Regions from separate parts of the Homo sapiens genome. Here region 1 is linked to region 2. Evidence: promoter capture Hi-C in human tissues and cell types (Jung and others, 2019). All regions are on one chromosome and are shown on one strand. Each heading gives the region's core, a stretch centred on a gene start or on the middle of the fragment in contact. The rest is flanking DNA. Distances are from core to core; before and after follow the strand shown. Region 1 holds the start of STBD1 (starch binding domain 1). Region 2 holds the start of SDAD1 (SDA1 domain containing 1).

Evidence for each region. Contacts are between HindIII fragments. The study calls those that stand out against the background at their distance.
Region 1: a fragment that was not itself captured here is called in contact with the fragment with the promoter of SDAD1 in region 2 in 1 of the 25 tissues and cell types used here (dorsolateral prefrontal cortex).

Annotation. Positions count from the first base shown.
Region 1 is chr4:76,306,661-76,311,893 of GRCh38, reverse strand. FAM47E-STBD1 (FAM47E-STBD1 readthrough) reads right to left here. Exons shown (of 7, transcript NM_001242939.2): 7 at 764-2,750. The coding sequence ends at 2,721. STBD1 (starch binding domain 1) reads right to left here and starts at 5,161. Exons shown (of 2, transcript NM_003943.5): 1 at 4,905-5,161; 2 at 764-2,750. The coding sequence starts at 5,124. The coding sequence ends at 1,894. The HindIII fragment of the contact is 3,427 bases long and covers 1,536-4,962 here.
Region 2 is chr4:75,988,034-75,993,538 of GRCh38, reverse strand. It overlaps SDAD1 (SDA1 domain containing 1), which reads left to right and starts at 2,594. Exons shown (of 22, transcript NM_018115.4): 1 at 2,594-2,787. The coding sequence starts at 2,698. All of the region lies in intron 1 of SDAD1-AS1 (SDAD1 antisense RNA 1), which reads right to left. The HindIII fragment of the contact is 8,316 bases long and covers 294-5,505 here.

The DNA of each region.
Region 1 (5,233 bases), core at 2,000-4,499, 320 kb before region 2:
AAATGGAGTAGGGCATGCATGCTCTCACCAGAAGATCCTCACGCTTCTGCTCTCAAGGACAATGTTAGAACTGTAAGCACATCCAATTTTAAGTGAATTTTTAAAATATAAAGTGTAATATTTCTCTCTTAGATCAGTTGGCTTTACTGAAAGATTAATTTTAATTTTACCAGGTAGTGATAAAATAGCCAGTAATAGAATTCTAGAGAGACTTTTACTTAAATTGTTTTACCTTTAATTTTCCTCATGGGCATGTTTGGGCATTCCATGCAGTAATGGTGAATGCCTTCTGCAGAGCTTACTGGTACAATATAAAATTCATTATGAAGTCTGTAAACAGTATACATGAATTTAACATAAAAGTGCTATGAGCCAAAAACTGTCAAACATAGTTCTTTTAAGTACTTTCTAATGCTATTTTCAGTTGGGTTTATTCTTTTCAGCAAAGACCATCTGTTTAAAAGGATTAAACATTATTTCACTGATAGATGTTAAACTTATTAAAAGTTATTTTAACATGTAAGAATTCATTTTCAAGTACAGGCGTGCTGAATTTCCCTCCAGTCAAAGGTGAACTTTGAGAATAAATATTGTCAACTTTTTCTCCAAAGGGAGGAGAAAAACAGAATCTTCATGTCTTCTGTACCTTTTGATGTTTGCTTTTCTGTATATGTCTCTTATTAGTGGAGGAAAATATTTGTATTTTATTTTACATCTAGGCTATTGTGATACTAAAATTTAGACAAATAATTCAGACATCAAATGAAGATATTAAAATTCAGGTTTTATTATTTGTTCAGTTATAATAATTTAAGTTAATATTTGCTGTATTCTCAGAGCAAAGATGTATTTCTGTACCACTGTCCTGTATAAATTTGTTACCCAAGATAGTGACTGGTATGAAAGGAGAGGGAAGAGGGTGACAGATGGAAACGATTGCTGTAGGACAGTCCATCTGGCCAGATGCGGTGGGGGAGGGGAGAAGAAGTGGGAGAGAGATGGTCCTACAGATGCTCCCATGGGTAAATGATGGGTGCATCCCTCCCTGCAGTCGGGCTGTGCCTGTACTTCACAGTCCTCTAAGAGGTGTCATTCAGGCCACCTCACTCAGCCTATGCCCAACCCCACTCACTTTCCCTTTCCTTATGGGCTGCCCCCGCAACTGACTTCCATGATGATTGGTTCTCATTAGGCCCTTTGTTTCTACACCAGCCTTAGATCATTAAGACAAAGACGTACTTGCTACCCTCATAGCACATAACAACGCCTGGCAGATGAAAATCAAACAAAAAGCATTAGGCAGTCTTAGAACATTATCTTGTATCCTTACTAATCACATCCAGACCAGATATTTTCTAATCACAGTTTCGTATCATGTTAACTTTTTAAGCATAAAATGTGTATGTAGTAAAAAGTGCTTTTCAAGCTGTACCAATAGGAAGTCAGCTATGTTTGAGTGAGGCTTATTTTACTACCATAGTTTAAAGATCACCTAAAGGCTCAAGCTTGAACCCTGGGCAGCTGGTTAATGTTTTTGCTCCGTGACCACAGTTTACACCTGAAGCTTAGCCAAGTCACTCCCCAAGAGAATCAAGCCCTAAAGTAATAATGGATCAGCACAAGTCTGTCAATCAGTGCCACAGGGAAAAGAAGTTCACATTCACTGGAAGCATTATCTGTGTGTGTGTGCATATATATACACACATACACACATATATATTTCTGCACATTAGACATATATATTTCTGCACATTAGACAAAATCCACTAGCAAATTTAAACAATTCAGATGGCTGAATTTGGAGTCACACTGCCTTTATTTTATTCAGTGTGTTCCACAACCTCAGCCTCTTCCACATTGTTCTACAGCTTCTCCATTACTTTGCAAACTGAATCAGTGAATCCCCCACCATGCGTGAACCACTTTATCCTCATGGCCAGTTTCTAGGAATCTATTGCTGCATTCTTCCCAGCGGGTAACTCCCCCATTCTCTACCAACACAAACTTCCACTCCACCACTGTATCTGCAGGCAGGAAAATGGAATGAGACCAGAACCCATCCTTGTTATAGTGGAGTGGGATGTAAGTGTTCCATCTCCCAAGACACTCATGGTCTCCAGTTACTGCAATGAATTGCACATCAGTGCTTGTGACATAATGGACCTGGAACCTGACACTAACTTGCTGAGACCCTGCAGGCATCACTGCTACCCTTTCCATTTTCCCATGCACTTGCTGACCTCTTGCTTCCACCAAAGTGCTTCTTCCATTGTCCATTCCCTGGTTTAGGTTTAACACTGGAGCCTTAAGACTGCCACCCACACCAACATCCCCCCAAGATGAGTGCCTAGGCACCATTTCCCACTCCTCGTGGTCAACCCGGTCCTGACTGTTCAAATCAGAGAGGCTCATTTCTTCTTTAGCTCTGTTCTTGAGCAGGTTGCTAGAAGGCAACTTCTCTGCAAAACATGTAGCTGCTTTAGCAGATATCTCTTGTCCTTTTTGGAATCCCCATTCTCCCATAGGAGATTCAAGGCTTTCATTTCTTGAAACTTCAGAGTAACTCCTAGAGTTACTGGTCTCAGAGGTAGCTGGAGCTTCTGTGTCTGGAAACTGTCCAGAAGGAACATGTTCTCTTGAATTGTCACAGACTTCCCTGGAAGGATTCTGCAATCTCCATGATGCTGCTTGCAGTTTACCAAGGTCTTTGGTCTTAGAAATCAAATGTCCATTGCTTTCTTGAAGATGCTCTAAGAAATCAAAGGAAAAATGTAATAGAGTCAGGTAGTTCATTTAAGAAAAAAGTCAGGCTGAGAAAATAGATTTAGTTACTGAAAGCTTTACTACTAATCAATCTGCAATTCACAAAGTCCCCCTCTATTAAAATCAAGTACTACTTAATTAACCAGTATGCTCCCAACACTGTGCTCTAAGAATACACATGTATATCTGACAACAAAAGGGACATCCAGGAGTATCAGTGTGCCAGCACAAGTGTAAATGAAGTGGTAAGCTGTAGAGGCAGACGTGTAACCCCCCCATGGTCCCCAGTCTCCACAGTCCAGGCCATACTGGCATGCAGCCAAGTTAAGTTGCTTGGCTCCTATCATCAAAGAATGTTGTCCAGGCTGTGGGGCAAAGGGCTGCGTGGCTACGTTACAAACCAGAAGAGTACACTTGTTCTCCCAGGGGAGGCATGCAGGGCAGGGATTGGCTCTCGCAGACCTGCGGGCAGATCAGCAGGAGCTGTCACCTTGGGGAGATACGGAGAACAGTAGTGCTTCCCTGGGCAGGAGTGGAGGGAGAACTGGGGGAAGGGGCTGGTTTCTCCTTGCCAATCCCATATGCGTTAGGAACCTCCCCAACAAAACGGTGTTTTGTATCCCCTTCCATTGTAAGCATTTTTTAAAAAACGTTCTTAAAAATACAAAATCCAAGTCCTCTAAAAATGCAGTTTCCTTCTTGGCCATGCCATTGGTAGTCCAAATAGCTCCCTACAAGATTGAAATCTCCAAATCATACATACAATCAGCACAGCTGTGGTTTTATGTGGTGTGGGGGTGGTGGTGGTATGGGGACAACAGTCTTGTTTCATTTTATCCCTTTTTTTTTTTTTTTTTTGAGATGGAGTCTCGCTCTGTCACCCAGGCTGGAGTGAGTGCAGTGGTACGATTTCGGTTCACTGCAACCTCTGTCTCCCGGGTTCAAGCGATTCTCCTGCTTTAGCCTCCCAAGTAGCTGGGACTACCGGCGCCTACTACCACGCCCAGCTAATTTTTGTACTTTTAGTAGAGACAGGGTTTCACCATATTGGCCAGGCTGGTCTCGAACTCCTGACCTTGTGATTTGCCCGCCTCGGTGATGGTGGGAGTTGGAAGTGAGAATGAACAAATATTATTCTGGATTCCCAACTTTTCAACCTAAAGCATGAGATTGGTCTTCAGAAAAAAGATAAGTGAACTGTCTAGGCATCCCAGACCAATCACAGTAAAGGCACACGGGCAGATTTTCATATGGCTGCACATGAACACCACTGGGCTAAAAATAAAGTTCACAGATGTCATTTTCACCATTAGGCTTCTGTCCAGGCATGGGCAGCTTGCCAAGGGAGGGCACTGGACGGTAAGCTTTTCTGCCAGTGTTCGCTCTCTGCTTAGCAAACGGTCCCTAAAATACAGAAATTTAAACCCAGATGTCAATTCTACTCATCAGGGTTGGGTCCCCTATTTAAGTAGTCCCTTCCTAGGGATGACTATCCGGCCCTATTCTGGGGCAGCGTGGAGGGGACTGCCGACAGTGCTGAAAGGGGTGACCAAGGCACATCCCCAGGGCCTCAGCCACAGCCTTCATGGCCAGAGTCCAACCTGAACTTTGCCTTCCTAAAGAAGCATCCAGATAGCAGGAGGCGCCCGCAGTTCGGGTGTTCCCAAACCCAGCTCTTCATGGGCTGTGCGATGGGAGGATGTCAGACTACCCGGATTGGGACTTAGAAAATGTCCCTGCTTGGGCAGAGATCGAAGAGGCTTGTAGGATCCCCTAAACCTAAGCCCCCCTTTCCAAAGGCCGGGAAGGGGCGCCGCCACTGCAGCCGCCCGCACTGCACCAAGCGCCGCCAAGTGGAGGAGCTCATCCCCGCCGGAGGGGCAGGACCAAGTCCTCAGGCGCGGGCGCTGAGGGACTCGGCAAGGGCGCGGCCCTTGGAGGACCAGACAAGAAACCTGCCTGCGCGTACCAACCAGCCTGGGAAACCGAGGGGCGTGGGGATGGCCCAGTCCCCTTAGGAGAGCCCGTCCGCAGGAATGGGCCCCTAGGAAAGCTCCAGGTGGGTTTGTCTCTTTGCTCCCTTCCTCGATGAACCTCAAAGCTCTGGCAGATGTGCCCTGGAGTCACGGGGGGAAGAATACCTGGTTTGGTGACCAGCTCCTGCCCGGAAGGTCCAGGGCTCAGTCCGCTGCTGCCACTCTGATGGCCTCCCGGAATCGCAGCTCCCCCAAGAGGGGCGTCTTTCTCCTGCTCCGCATCCCCGTCCTTCCCGGTGTCGCCAGGGCCGCCCCGCAGCAGCCAAACGAAAAGTGCTCCGGCCAGACCCCCTCCAACCAGCAGGGCGGACCAGACGGCGCCCATGGCTGAGAGGCCGCGGCCGCAGGAGACTACAGGGACTGGGACCGGGGCTCAGGTCACGCACACAGAGCCACACCTACCCCGCCCGCTCCAGCCTTTTACGGTTTCTGCG
Region 2 (5,505 bases), core at 1,345-3,844:
CCAAATATCCAGCAACTAGTGAATGGATAAACAAATTGCAATATGTCTATATGATGGAATACTACTCAGGAATAAAAGGAGTGAACTATTGATACATACAACACCATGGATACATTTCAAAATAATTATGCTAAGTGAAAGAACCTTGACCTCAAATAATAGGTACTGTATGATTCCATTTGTATACAATTCCAGCAAACACAGACATATCTTTGGTGACAGAAAGCAGATGTGTGTTTGTCTGGGGATGATGAGGCACAAGGAACGTTTGGGGATGATGGATATAGTCATTATTTTGATTGTGATGATGGTTTTATGGGTACATACATATGTCAAAACTTATCAAATTGTTCACTGGGTAGTTTGTTGTACATCAATTATATCTTAATAAAGCTATAAAATAAATACATTATAATTTTAAAAATAAAGGATGGAATTTCACATGAAAGCAGAGATGTTGGCCTTAGATACCCAAATTATTTAACATCTGAAAAATATATATTCAGTTAGCCACTCTTAGTCTTAGAGTTCTCATTTATCAAAAACAAATCCTGCCTTCCATGCTGCTGGAGGTAAAATGAACTGACCTATATGCCCTCCTTAGAATAGCAATTAAAGCCTTTCATATCAGGACAATATAACCTTCTCAGCTCTTTCCCTGCTGCACCCTGCCCTCCCAGCCTTTAGTCACACCAAACTTATGGCTATTGTTTCAATACACCAGACATTTTCAAGTACCTGTACGCAGTCTTTTTTCTTTTTTTTTTTTTTTTGAGACAGGGTCTCACTGTATTGCCCAGGCTGGTGTGCAGTGCTTCACTGCAACCTTAACCTCCTGGGCTCAAGCAACCCTTTTGCTTCAGCCTCCTCAGTAGCTTGGACCACAAGCCTGTGCCACCATGCCTGGCTGATTTTTCAACTTTTTGGTAGAGATGGGGTCTCACTATATTGCCCAGGCTAGTCTTGAACTACCCAGCTCAAGTGGTTCTCCCACCTTGGCTTCCCAAAGTTCTGGGATTACAGGCTTGAGCTACCACACTTAGCCAGATTTTGTTTTGAGAATACTTTTTTTGCCCTCACTAAAACAACCTAGCCAAAAAATTTTAATTTAAATCTATGCTTTTTAAAAAAGATTTATTGCTGACATTTATTTCTTAACTTCACAGGTAACTGATTTGATAATTAATAAATAAGTCATTCTCCAAAAGCAGCTGAATAACATGGTTTGTGAAGCATTCTTTATTTTGTGTGCAGGTGTGATTACAGAGTTGTTTTGTTTGGGGCTCATTTTATCATCGTCACAGATGAGGTTGGCGTTCTATAAAATTGCTTTGGTTAAGCAGAACCCTATTGTCTGGCTATTTTGCCAGACCAGCAACCAGCTACCAGCTGTTAGGCTATGTTTTTTCTCATGTAGTTACAATCAAGACTGTCTAGATTGAAATCTCATCTTCCTCACAGGCTATGAATTGAGGCAGTCAACTTCCCTGAGCTTGTTTCCTCTTCTGTAAAATGTAGATAACAATAGCACCTATTTTAGAGGGTTGTTCTGAGGATTAAATAAGTTAATACAAGTGCTTGGAATAGTGCCTGGCACAGGGTGGGTAATTAGGTTTTTTTTTCTCTCTCTCTAATTCACAACACCCTACCTCATTCATTCAACCCTTATTGATTTTTTACACCTTGAGATTGTAGAAATGTATTCTCCTCTTCGAATTACCAGGATCTGAATTAAAAACTCTGACTGAGGAGTGCTTACAAAGCTTATAACGATGGTTGAATTTTAACGATTAATTGCATTTATTAATGGTCAACATGATCACATTTTATCCAGCCCTCTTTTCCCTTGTATGGGTCACGCTAAGTTGAAACAACCAAAACCAAAATAAAAACATATCTAAAATCATACACATTAACTTATATGACCCTCGTTGCTCTTTTTTCCTCCTAAGAGGGAATAGTGTTATCTAGCGCCACGGTTCTTTTCAGTTTTGTTTTGTTTTGTTTTGTTTTTTATACGGAGTTTCGCTCTTGTTGCCCAGGCTGGAGTGAAATGGTGCAATCTCGGCTTACCGCAATCTCCGCCTCCTGTGTTCAAGCGATTCTCCTGCCTCAGCCTCCCTAGTAGCTGGGATTACAGGCATGCGCCACCACGCTCGACTAATTTTGTAATTTTAGTAGAGACGGGGTTTCTCCATGTGGATCAGGCCGGTCTCGAACTCCCGACCTCAGGCCCGCCTTGGCCTCCCAAAGTGCTGGGATTACAGGCGTCAGTTTCTAATTTTAGACTGCGGGATTAAAAATAAACGATTAATCCTCATTTATGTGCTTCATATGGGTGTCGGAATGACGATACATGCTAACACACGTGAAAAAATTTACATTTCAGATCCTTTCAGAAACGCAAGGCAATATTAAGTAGTAGCATATGCCCAAGGGCGAGGGGCGGGTCGGCGGTGGCTGGCTCTCCAATACACCACAGAGTATTTTGGCAACGAGAGTAATTTTGACACTCTGAGGCTTCCGTAGCATAGCTCGCTTTAGGAACCGCTAAGGTGTCGCCTGCCTAGAGTCCCATGCGCTATTTCCGGTCATACCCGGAAACACGAGTCCAAGCTGCAGCTGGCAGGGATTGCGGGGTGCCGGCCGTCTGAGTTTTTTTAAAACTGCTCGCCGCGAAGTCTGTCTGCAGCCAAAATGTCCAACAGAAACAACAACAAGCTTCCCAGCAACCTGCCGCAGTTACAGAATCTAATCAAGCGAGACCCGCCGGCCTACATCGAGGAGGTGGGAGTGCGGCGCGGCAGACGCTAGAGGCCGGATAGTGGATGGTTGAGACGCCGGTGCGGGAAAGCATGGAGTGGGGCTGGGATCCAGGCTCGCCGCCTATTCTTCTGTTAGGTTCAGGGGTCCCTCCAGAGGAGAGAAGGGGTTGGGGACGGGACATGCCTTAGGGTTCGTTCCCCACCTCTTGAAAATCTGTTGCCCCTTTGGATTTTCTACCTGCCCTGCTGCCGCTGAAACACCTTTAAAACCTCATTTTGTTTTAAGATATTTTTCTTCGTCCGCACGGAAGTGGAGAGAGAAATGGGCCGCACCCAACCACCAACTTCCACGCGGATTTCTCAGCCTCTTTTCAGAAATCCCAAACTTGAATTAGTCGGTAACCTTTGATGAATCGTATGTTAGAATGCTTTCGATTGACGTCCGTTTCTGAGAGCAGGCTGTGTACCCTGGACTGTGCCAGGAAAGGGGGGGGGGGGGTTTCTCAAGCACAACGGACAGACTCGGGAGCTTAGTATATTTAGTTAAGCCAGGATTCAAACTTACCGGAGACTGGCATGACTCGGATGTCAGAATTTGCTTCGGGAAAAGATTAGGTTGAAAAATTAGGCCCTCATTGTGATGGGCTTTGTGTACTGACCTCATGTAAGTTGTGAACATTAGGGGTGTTTGAACCAAGTACCGACAAAACGAAAGTGGTTTTTGATATATTAATCTGACAGGTGCTTCCTTCAGACACTCATTTATCAGACGGGCATTAAACAGGTATCTCTGCTAGGCATTTGCTGCAATTACATGTTTGTGCTTCTACCAGATTGTGATTTGTTCAGTGGCTAACACAATTACTTATTTTTTCATTGCCCTTCTCACTTCCCTCCTCCCCTAAATTTTCACATATATGTATTTTATGAGTGCTTTTTAACACATGGCAATCTCAGTGGCTTAGGTCACCAGTAGAGAAAGCCTCTCCAAGGATCAAGGTAGTGGAAATAAAGAGTAGGAAACAAGTACAAGAAGTTAAGTAACATAGGCAAGGCTTTGAGATGCTTAAAGCATTGTATAGCCATTCGCAAAGAAAGTGGTAAGTTGAGAGTCTATATAATTCCGTTAGATAACTCCTGCTGCTGACTGTTGTTAACCAGTTGTGTAACCGAAGCAGGTTAATCGCTGAGCCTATGTGGGTATTTTAATATGTAAGAAGGGGGTAATAACTACTTCTTTAATTCACTTAAGTATATATGCAAAATCACATATAACTACTGTGTGTTGTTATTCTAGGTAGGCGTTGGGGTACAGTAATGAATAAGACAGATAAGAAAGCATTCTTCTCTTGGACTTACATTCAAGTGAGTGTAGACTTATTATGGTAGAGATTATGAAGAAAATAAAACTGGATGGGAATAGGTTAGAATTGGAGGCTTCTGATTTAGACCCCGTAAACAGGGAAGGTGGCTCTGCAATGATGATATTGAGCCAGGCAGGTAAACATCATTTTAGGTACAAGGAATAGAAAGTGCAGAAGCTACTGGTGGAAAAAAAGCAGAGAAGAAGCCAGTGTAGCTAAAGTGTAGTCAGCATAGAAGAGGGCAGTGGAAGATGATGTAGGAAATGCAGGCAGGGGTCAGCTTATTCAGAGCCTCTTAGGCCCTGTTAACGAGTTTAGATTTCACTCTGAGTGCCTCGGGGAGTGATTGAAGAGTTTTAAGCAGGAGAGTGACATGATCTGACATATTTTTTTTAAGAATTTACTCTGGAAGTTACATGTGGAATGGCTTGTAGAGGAGCAACACTGGAAGCAGGGTAACTAATATAATGGATCTCAGAATAACCAAGCAAGGGATTGTGGTGTCATTGGAATTATGGGCAAAGATTCGTGCTGTTCTACGTGGAGGTAGAGCTAGTAGAGCCTTGGGATTTCTGGTGGAGTGGATGTGGGGGATAAGGAAAAAAGAAGGAATGAAGGATCACCCAGGTTTTTTATTTATATGTCTAGGTAGATGATAGTGCCATTTCCTGAAGTTCGTTCATTTGACAAATACTGTTGATTACCTGCTATATGTAAGGCACAATGCTGGGCCCTGGGACTACATAATATTGAGCTGTACCGATAAAAATTCTATGCTCATTAAATGACATTCTAGTAGGGGGTGATATACAGTAACAAATAATATAGTATGTTAAATAATGAAAAGTGCTGTGAAAAAAAGACAATAGGAAAGTACTTATGTATGTTGGGGGTGAGATGGGTATTGCAGTTTTAAATTGGATAGTTAGGGAAGGTCTTCTTGAGATAGTAATCTTTGAGTGAAAACCTGAAGGACATGAGGGAGAGCTGTGCATATGTTTAGGAAGAATGATCTAGGCAGAAGGAACAGAAGGTATAAAGACCTTGGGGTAGGTATGCCTGGTAGATTTCAGGAACATAAAGGCCAGTGTGGCTCCAAATAGGGAATGAGGAAAGGGGGTGAATTTGGGATTCTACCTCCCAATGAGATGGAAGCCTTTACAGGGTTTTGAGCAGAAGAATACATGAACCACCCTATATGAGAACAAGATCACCGTTACTTGAGGATAGACTGTATGTAGGAGGGCAAAGATAGAAGCAGAGACACCACATAAGAAGCTATTGGAATTATCCACAGCAAGAGATGATGCTGGGTTGAGTGGTGCTAGGATGGTAACAGGAAGTAGTAAGAAGGGTGATTAGATCCTGGATTGGGT